2 separate regions of the Homo sapiens genome follow, and region 1 is linked to region 2. Evidence: promoter capture Hi-C in 16 types of primary human blood cells and fetal thymus (Javierre and others, 2016). All regions are on one chromosome and are shown on one strand. The core of a region is centred on a gene start or on the middle of the fragment in contact, and the rest is flanking DNA. Distances in the headings are between cores, read along the strand shown.

The links. Contacts are between HindIII fragments. The CHiCAGO score rates a contact against its expected background, and 5 or more counts as called.
Region 1: a contact is called between the fragment with the promoter of COXFA4 here and the fragment with the promoter of C7orf25 in region 2, in 1 of 17 cell types (monocytes). The highest score is 5.7, in monocytes.

The regions. Positions count from the first base shown.
Region 1 is chr7:10,938,691-10,943,910 of GRCh38, reverse strand. COXFA4 (cytochrome c oxidase associated subunit FA4) reads left to right here and starts at 3,758. Exons shown (of 4, transcript NM_002489.4): 1 at 3,758-3,895; 2 at 5,015-5,103. The coding sequence starts at 3,854. It overlaps LOC107986767 (a long non-coding RNA gene), which reads right to left and starts at 3,655. Exons shown (of 3, transcript XR_001745091.3): 1 at 3,180-3,655. RefSeq lists a silencer at 3,226-3,475 and enhancers at 2,701-3,621, 3,506-3,775. The HindIII fragment of the contact is 7,174 bases long and covers 1,979-5,220 here.
Region 2 is chr7:42,908,671-42,913,674 of GRCh38, reverse strand. It overlaps C7orf25 (chromosome 7 open reading frame 25), which reads left to right and starts at 1,605. Exons shown (of 2, transcript NM_001099858.2): 1 at 1,605-1,760; 2 at 2,754-4,402. The coding sequence starts at 2,775. The coding sequence ends at 4,040. RefSeq lists a silencer at 1,774-2,033 and enhancers at 1,382-2,078, 2,079-2,776. The HindIII fragment of the contact is 2,903 bases long and covers 1,326-4,228 here.

The DNA of each region.
Region 1 (5,220 bases), core at 2,509-5,008, about 32 Mb after region 2:
CGGCATGATCTCGGCTCACTGCAACCTCCGCCTCCCGGTTCAAGCGATCCTCCTGCCTCAGCCTCCCGAAGTAGCTAGGATTACAGACACCCGCCACCATGCCCAGCTAATTTTTCTGTATTTTTAGTTGAGACAGAGTTTTACCATGTTGGCCAGGCTGGTCTTGCACTCCTGACTTCAGGTGATCCACCTGCCTCAGCCTCCCAAAGTGCTGGGATTACGGGCATGAGCCACCAGGCCCAGCCTATTTCTCATTCTTAATACATGTACACTGCAGGTCAGTAGTGGCTCTGTTCCAGGTAGTTCTTACCCTGACACCTAAGCTGATAAGCAGGCTGTATCTAGAATATTGCTAGTCTTGTGGCAGAGGGAAAACTGACAACATGGCACATGTTGGCTCTTAAAGTTTTTGCTTGTGCATGGCATGTGCTACTTCTCACTTCGCATTTGCTAATAAGGCAAGTCTTCTTATTAAGCTTGACCCTCATGAGGCAAGTGATATCTCCTTCTAGGTAGAGGCTGAAGCTATCTGCATACAATTTAATCTACAACACATACCAATTCCACTTCTGCAGCTCAGGAATTTTGCGTTGTTTCTTCTACCATGGCTTCTTTTTCCAGACTGTCACCTCTACCTGTCCCTACTTAAAATATAGGTGACATACTCTTTCCACTAACTTCAATGTGCAAAATTTAAACTTTCACAATTTGACATTTTGGTTAATATTTAATGAAATTTATATTTGTAACCTTGCTTTGTTAACATCTCTAAAGGCATCACTTAGGCCAGGTGCGGTGGCTCACACCTGTAATCCCAGCACTTTGGGAGGCCGAGGTGGGCAGATCACGAGGTCCAGAGATCGAGACCATCCTGACTAACACGGTGAAACCCCATCTCTACTAAAAATACAAAAAATTAACCGGGTGTGGTGGCATGTGCCTGTAGTCCCAGCTATTGGGGAGGCTGAGGCAGGAGAATCGCTTGAACCTGGGAGGCAGAGGTTGCAGTGAGCCGAGATCGTGCCACCACACTCCAGGTTGGGCCACAGAGCGAGACTCCATCTCAAAAAAATAAACAAACAAAAATAAATAAATAAAGGCATCACTTAGCTATCTATATTATTGTTGTCTCTAGAAGCTAGGTCAATGACAAAAAAAAGTTAAGTCTCGCGCCACTGCATTCCAGCCTGGGCGACAGAGTGAGACTCCGTCTCAAAAAGAAAAAAAGTTAAGTCACTGGATTTTAGTTTCTTTTTAATAATGGCATTTCTACATACCTACTTATTATCAACTGTTATTATTCAAAATAAAATATTGGAAGAAGAGGTCTCCCTTCTTCTAATTTATTTGCTGAAAGCCTATCTACACTCACTAAGGTTTCTTTGTTCACTTCTAAGTATTTTCCATGTTTTTGTGCTGATCTTTTAACACAGCCATGCTCCTTACCATAGCCTATAAGGTCCATGTCAGAGAATTGGACATAGACTTTACAGACTCCACTGTTTGCTCTCATTTTCCTCTTTTTCTCCTTAGTTATGGATCAACCACACTGATACTTTTTTAAGCACTCTTCTTCTTCTTCTTCTTTTTTTAAATCTCAAAGCCATTTCTCTTACTAATTTAGTGTTCTTCCCACATCTTTACCAGGTTACTTCCTTCCTTTCATTTAGGTTTCAACTCAGAAATCCTCAGACGGACCTTCCCTGTCCTGTCTACTTAAAGTAACCTCCTCTCCTCCACCTCTTCCATGTCATTGTCTGTCTCATTATTCTATTTTATTGGCTTGTCACTGTCTAAAAATTATCTCATTTGTTTATTGTTTGTCTTCCTCAATTAGTATGTAAGCTCCATTAGCAACGCAGAGTAATTTTCTTGTTCACTGCTATAACTCTAGTGGCTAGAACAGTGCCTAGTGGAGAGTAGGTACTTAAGAAAGATTTGCTGAATGAATGAAAAAAGACACCAGTCTTGATAAGCTTCATGACATATCACCTTAACAGTTACCATCTATTTTTTTTTTCCTACCTACTGGCCATACCTCCTCTTCTAAGCATTGCATGTTGGAATTCCTCGGCTCTGTGTCCTCTGTCTAAATTCTCAGTCAACTTTCTCTCCCTAAGTAATCTCATTCAGTCACATGGGTTCATTTCTTATCAGTAAACTGAGTCCTAAATTTATACTTATAGTGTAGTTCTCTTCTGCCCCATAGAGATCCACTTGAATTTTACATAGGCACTTATACATCATTCTCTACGGCTTATTTCAATAACTGGCATCAACAACCACAGAGCTGCTCAAAACTGAACCTCTGAAATTATTCTTAACTTCTCTCTCCTCACTCCTGGAGAGCCAACCACCAAGTCCTGTTGGTGCCACCTTCTAAACATCTCTGGAATCTTTTTTTCTCATCATTACATTCTCTACACTAGTTCAAGCTACCATTATCTGTCACACAGATTATGGACTATTGCAATGGCCCCTTGATAGGTCTTTCCCCTCTCACGCTTATCCCTTCTAATCAATTATTCACAAAGCAATCATTTAAAAACACAACCTTCCCAAGCTCTCAACATAAAACCCATGATGTTTAAGCGGTTATTGGCCCAGCAGATCTGATCCCCACCTTGCTCTCCCTTTTACTTTCCAGCCACACTAGACCTCATACAGCTCCCTCGGGTTTTCAATAGCTTCAGACCTTCACGTGTTATTACCTCCGCCCTGTACACCTGCATCCTCCGTTTTCACCTGGTTAATGTCCGCTCCTCCTTCAGAGCTAGTGTAACTTCCGGTGGAGCCTTCTCCTATGATTTCTAGTCCCAATTATTAATACTTGCTTGATCATTTGATTAATGCTTTAAGCTACGTATGAGATTGGAGAGGGTTCAGAGTGTACATTTTATCCCAATCCCCCCACCCTCCCCCGCAAAGCCTGTCCTATGGAAGTCCTTCGGGTAAAAAAAACAACGAAGAAAACAAAACAAAAGACAAATGAAAATTCGACTGGGGTAGTGGGAAAGATTATCTGTAGCTACACGACCATTGAAAACACATTTTAAAGATGCAATTTGGGACCAGGGACGGGGGATAGTGGCGTGTTGGAAAGGTCTTTGTGGCGACGAACTTTCAACCGAGGGCCAGGATCTGAGGGTTCAGAAATACACTGCCAGGACTATTATCACCTTTAAGTCATTTACTAGTTTTTAACTTCTGCTTGTCTGCGACAGCGTAACACAGGAAGCAGCTGCAGTCTTCTCAAACCGCAGCCGCTGACCTTAGCGGCAAGAGGCCCGACCTGCCCTCCAGGCGCCCGGCGCTCGGCTCCCAGAGGCGCCGCGCAGCTCCCTCAGCGGCAGTCACAGCTGGCCAGCGCGCACCCGGCACGCGCGCCCCCAGGGCCTCTGCGCGCGGACCCGGCTCTCAGGCGCCGCGGGAGAGGCCCCCTACTCACGGAGCGCGCGGCCCGTGCGCCCACGCTCCGACCGCATTCCTCAGTACGTGGCACCCTTGGAAAGTGCCTGTCTGGTCAATCGAAGAGTCCTCGTTTCGACCAAAAAAATTCCCCTCAGAAATATGCATGGCACGGCAATGAAGGCATTTCACTATGAAGTGGAATGATGATGGTCCGACCAGGTCAGGACGAACATATGAGGGGTTAGATCTAAGCAGGCACTATTAAAGACAGTCGCATCCGGGCCCTCCTGCCGCAAGCTGCCCTCCCAGCCAAGGGTCCTTCAGGTAGGAGGTCCTGGGTGACTTTGGAAGTCCGTAGTGTCTCATTGCAGATAATTTTTAGCTTAGGGCCTGGTGGCTAGGTCGGTTCTCTCCTTTCCAGTCGGAGACCTCTGCCGCAAACATGCTCCGCCAGATCATCGGTCAGGCCAAGAAGCATCCGAGCGTAAGTTCGTGACCGCTCTCCTAATGTTTTCCCTTGTCCTTCTTGCGTCGGGGTGCGCCTCTTTCTGTTCCCTGGGAACGTCCTCATTTACAGCCACTTACCGTCCGTCAGACCAGACCCTGCCTCGCCTAGTGTTTGTCATCTTAGTTGTCCCAGGCCTCTGTGACCCTCTACGCCATGCATTGTGGGGTTTTGTCTGACAGGAGGAAGGAGACGGACACTGCTCGGAAAAAAAACCTAGTTTTTTCTAGTTAGTGAATATTGGAACAGTCTGGTGGCCGCTCTCTTTTGCAGGTTGTGCGGTCCAGGAGGGATAGATGTGCGCTGTGTGGGTCAGAGACTAGCATAGGTCAGGTTCCCTATGTGTTATACCATCTCTGGAGGTTCTTGTATTCGCCGCATTGCACCACCAGGCCTTTTGGTAAATAAGAGGGGTCCGTGATCTTGGAATCCTCACTTTGTCTGGACGTCGTTGCTTTTGGGAAAATTTCGAAGTGTGGAAATTGCAGTTAAGTTCTTTGGCATCTCATTTTTCCTCAGCACATCAATGTGCTGTAGAGCTAAAAGTCTATGCAATCTTTAATCTGTCTTAAATCCGGTTCCCTAAATACGCAGCAAGCATTGGTAGCATTACGTTTTCAGAGATAATGCTTAAAGCCAGTATTTGTAATAGATACGTTTACTTATTCAGATTCTATTTTTCATACATCTTTATAGAGGCACCCTTAAATAATTTGCAAAGAATTTGTTTTTCAAGCCCCAGGATAAAGGAAGCCAGAAAATTTAATGGGAATGACATGTAAATATTAGAGAGGTGAAGAAGACTCGATACATTTTCTTGGAAATTTAAAAATGTACCTATAATTTGCTCCACATTAAAAAGTAAGACACTTAAACCAGAGTCATCTTAACATCCTTTCCAAATTCCATTTCTTTCTTTAGAACACAGTTATAAGAAATCTTACCTCAATGTAAGATCTACTTTATTTAAATTTTAAGACAAAACAGTCCAATAACAGTTTGAGACTTGGAAATCAATGTGCAGAAACTACTGTAATCTCTCGTTGGCCAGTGTTTTAAGTATTTGAAGATGGTTATTCTATTTTGTGTTTGGTTTAGTTGATCCCCCTCTTTGTATTTATTGGAACTGGAGCTACTGGAGCAACACTGTATCTCTTGCGTCTGGCATTGTTCAATCCAGATGTTTGGTAAGTACTTAAAAATGTTTAAAACTTTGATAGCTGATCAAGGCAGTTTAGGAGCCACAGTCTCTGTAGGGCGATAACATTAGGGTAGTAGAAAGAATGTTACATTTACAGTCATAC
Region 2 (5,004 bases), core at 356-2,855:
TTGCTAAATTTTCTATTAAGTTTTTGAAAAATTTTCTCTTCATTTTGTTTTTGTTTCTAAACTCCTGTTAATTGGATACTGGATCCTTTTGTTTTTGCTCCATTTTTCATCTATTTCTACTTTCTAAATTTTTCCAACTCATTGATGTTTTGAAATTTGGGATATGATTTTTACTACAGAAGAACCATTTCCTGTGCTCTGCTGTCTCCTTAAAAAAAGAAATCCTCTTGTTTCATAGCTGAAATATCTTTTATTTGAAGATGCTAGTTATAGAATACTTTTTGAGACCATTTTGTTCTGTTTTCCATTTCCTTCAAATAACAAAAACGTTGGGAAATGCTGTGTTCGTGAGGCTCACACTAGGGGATGCTGAATGTTGGTATTGCCGAGCCATTTCTCTAGGGTCTTTTGTCTACTCATTTCTTCAGAGAAAAATAGGGTTATGGGGAGATAGTGGTAGGGAGCGGTAGAGGGGTGCCTGCATTATGGGAGGGGCAGAGAAGGGGGCTGCTAGCATTGCACTATTCAGTAGGAAAACATCATGGCACCTCTCATCCTTTGTTAGGCTTTGTGTCTGGAATCCCTCTGATGCCCTGTCTTTAGCATCTTAAACTAGTCTTCTGCCTGAACAATTTACTGCCCTCCCTTCTACCTTCAAGGCACCTGAAGCTTTCTGGGGTTCTGCTTTGTGAATCAGTGGCTAAATATCCCCTTCTACAAGCAGTTTGCTCAGTTCTCCTGACACCATCTGCAAAGAGGGTGCTTGGGTTCAGGTAACCTCCCTATGGCTCACTTATCTGTAAAGCATACTTAATATCTCTACCTTTTAGGTTGTTTAAAGGAGTGAACAATGTGTAAAACACTTAGAACAATGTCTGTCACGCTGTAAGGACTGAATAAGTTATTGCTCTTGTCCTCCAAAAATGTGTTGGTATAACCGGTCTGCAGTCATCTCTTCTCTTGTTCTTTTTGCCTTTGTTTGTTCCCTTTGTCATTGCTTTACTGTTATTTGGAGAAGGAGCATTGCTTTACTGTTAAGTTTGGAGAAGGAGCAGGATACACAGGATTAATTATAACTGGAAGTCCTCTTTAATATTTTAAATTAGCTTTACTTTCTTACAGCCCTAATCTTTCTGGGTGACTCTGGACACTCTACTACAGTAATATGAATATGGCAGCCCCTCGGAAGCCATGCAATCATTTCTTCTCTTCAGAAGGACAGCACACTTTCTTTGGAGGGCCCAGGACAATGCAGTGGAAAGTGCTTTGGCTTGGAGGCAGAAGTCCCAGAGGCAGTACTTCTCAGCTGTCACCTCTGACAAGCTTCTCCAGCGTTTCTTCTGTTAAAATGAGCCCCCAAAATGCCTACGACCCGGTTGCGATCGAGTGGCCGACGCCCCCAGTGGGAGTGAGGCCCAGCACGCGAGCTCGGTCCCTCTTCCTGGAGCCAGGTGGGTGCGCGCCTTCAGGCTCACCCGGCGGCGCAAGCGGGAGAAGCCAGGTGCCCTCAATAAACATGGCCGCCACGCCAGCGTCAACCCGGCTCGGGAGGCCGCGCTGCCGCTTGGGAATCGCAGGTTTGGCGTCACCCGGCCCGGAACCACGTGATGCAGGAGGTGCCCGAGGCGGCGGGGCTCGCGCGGGTGGAGCCGCCTCGGCGTTCGAGCGGGGTGGGGGCTGCCCGGTTGAGATTTCCCGGCGGGTCCCGGCCTCTGCGTGCACGCGCCTGCGTGCTCGCGCTCGCGGTTCTGGCGCTGCCGGTGAGGAGCCGGGGAGCGAGGCGGGGAGGCTGGGAGCGGGGCGCCTCTTCTGAGGCCAGAGGGGGCTGGGCAGGGCCGGCCCGGCGGGAAGGGGGTCGGCCGCGCGCTATCAGCGCCTGGTCCCTGAGCCGCGGCGCTGGCGGTGGGGGCTTTTCGGCCCCGGCCCCTCCTGGCAGGGCCCGGCTGTGCAGGTGGCCGGGCAGGGCCGAGGGCCCCGCAGCCCACCGAGAAGGCCCCGCCGGCCTCTGGCCCGCCCACCCGGCGACCTGCGCTGGGGCCGCTTGCACGGCCGCCGCGGGTTGCAGCCTTGGAGTTTAGTTTCATCTTCGGATTTTCCTTCAGAGTCGGAGTGGGAGTGGGACGCAAGTTGGTGGTCTTCTTCGGTCTTTTAAAATAGTCTGGGTTGACGTCAAATGCAGAAATGAGGCAGTGTTGATTTTTTTTGGCGTAAGTACCCCAAGCCTCGGGGGAAATCATGAGGCAGCCGGTTGAAGGAGACCAACTCGGGAAGGAGGAAAAGGTTAGGGAGGCTGAAGTGCTCAGTTTAGGACAGACACTTGCTTTGGACAGTTTGCTAACTAGCCAGTCTGTGTGTATTTTTGTTTTCGGCATTTTTGTCGCCTTTATTAAAATTTCTCAGCAGTTAAACAGGCCGCTGATAGACATAAGGGAATTATTTATATAGCAGATTGCCCAACTCTTGCATTGTATCCTAACCTAGGACCATGCTGTGTCCCCATGGCTTTCAAGCTGAAGAAATGAAGGTCTAAAGTGTGTCAGACGTACCTAAAGAAGAGTTCAAAAGTGTAGCTGCCATCCTTTCCTTAGCTATCAGAGGAAGCAGTCACTCCAGAATGAGACATACACAAGCCCGGGTTCATAGACTCACCCTCCATAAGCTGTGTTGCTAGATTGAAGTTTTTAATCACCAGTGAAGAATTGATTGTCATAATTTTAGGAGACTACTGAAGTTTGCCTTGTTTCTTTCCCTAGGAAAGGAATAATGCTGACAGCATGTCTGCACATTCCATGCTCTGTGAACGAATCGCCATAGCCAAGGAACTGATCAAGAGAGCAGAATCACTTTCTAGATCAAGAAAAGGTGGCATAGAAGGTGGTGCAAAGCTGTGCAGCAAATTGAAGGCAGAATTAAAATTCTTGCAGAAAGTAGAAGCTGGGAAAGTAGCTATTAAAGAGTCTCATTTACAGAGCACTAACCTAACACACCTGAGAGCCATTGTGGAATCAGCAGAAAACCTGGAAGAAGTTGTTAGTGTTCTTCATGTCTTTGGTTATACAGATACCTTAGGAGAAAAGCAAACCCTTGTGGTAGATGTAGTTGCAAATGGTGGTCATACTTGGGTGAAAGCCATTGGCCGGAAGGCTGAAGCTCTTCATAACATCTGGCTGGGCAGGGGCCAATATGGTGACAAAAGCATCATTGAGCAGGCTGAAGACTTCCTCCAGGCCAGTCACCAGCAGCCAGTGCAGTATAGCAACCCTCACATCATCTTTGCATTTTACAACAGTGTCTCCAGCCCCATGGCAGAGAAGCTGAAAGAAATGGGCATATCTGTGAGAGGAGACATAGTAGCAGTCAACGCTCTGTTAGATCACCCTGAAGAGCTTCAACCAAGTGAGAGTGAATCAGATGATGAGGGCCCTGAACTTTTGCAGGTGACCAGAGTTGACCGAGAAAATATACTAGCAAGTGTTGCGTTTCCAACAGAAATTAAGGTCGATGTGTGCAAAAGAGTAAATCTGGACATTACTACTTTAATCACATATGTATCTGCCCTCAGCTATGGAGGCTGCCACTTTATTTTCAAAGAGAAAGTGCTCACAGAACAAGCAGAGCAAGAGAGGAAAGAGCAGGTTCTACCTCAGCTGGAGGCCTTTATGAAGGACAAGGAGTTGTTTGCTTGTGAATCTGCTGTCAAGGACTTTCAGTCTATTTTAGATACCTTAGGAGGACCTGGGGAGAGAGAGAGGGCCACTGTGTTAATTAAGCGAATTAATGTGGTACCAGACCAGCCTTCTGAGCGTGCCTTGAGACTAGTGGCCAGTTCAAAAATTAATAGCCGCTCATTAACAATTTTTGGGACGGGAGACACCCTAAAAGCCATCACAATGACTGCTAATAGTGGTTTTGTCAGAGCTGCAAACAACCAGGGTGTTAAATTTAGTGTGTTTATCCATCAGCCCAGAGCACTTACTGAGAGTAAAGAGGCTCTAGCCACCCCCTTACCAAAAGACTACACAACTGACAGTGAACACTAAAGATACCCTTTAAATATTTTTGTGGAAGTAAGTTATTTATACCAAAGGCTGGGTCTTCCCATCTAAACTGGTGGGAAAAAAGGTCTATAGTAAAAGTAAAACTGAGAACTCTTAAACCAGTAGAGTTTCTTTGTCTCTCATCTAAAGTATATAACCTCCCAAAGTAGAAAAAGCACAAGAGAGAAGCTTATCTATCAAACTGTCTGCATTAGTGCAATTAAGAACCGAAATACGTCTATATAAAGCTTTCAGCTGTATTGTAATACTTTGATTCGATAGGGCTACAACTCCCCTACTGCTAACCACATTTCATGGAATATGGCTACATTGCATCTTGCATTAAATATCTGGAGAAAATTCAAGCCTGTTTTTCATTGTATTGCTTTATATGGTTTAGGCTGGGAGGTAGTCGTTGGTAATCAATTTTAGATTCTAAGGTTAACCATTAATGAAAAACTTATTTGCTGTATGTCAGGTGCAGTCTGATAGGTGTTTTTACAAAAAGTACATAATACAGAAGAAATGAGAAAGTGAATTATGGTTATTTGAGTGCCATGAACCCATTGGTAGACCTTTGTGAAAAGAAAGCCAACAATCTTACTACTATAAGATAAAACCAGGACACTTAAGGTAAAATACTAATTTGAATGAATTGAAAAAGGATTATGTAAAAGATTTTAAAAATTCAATACAGAAAGCCCCCATATTATAAGTATTTGAACAATAAATACTATTTTCATGTTTCATTTGCAAGTGGCAAGTGACAACTGCATTACCTTACTTTCATGAGATGGTGACAGAATATTCCATGCCAATTCCATGACACAAGTTGTAGTTAAAAATACACTTCTATGGCTACATTGCGCTAGATACTTTATCAGTTTTCAATAAAGCAAAACTAGCAAAGTCGGTATGTATTCACCACATTTAAAAATTTGGAATTTGAGTCCTGGAGCTTAAATAT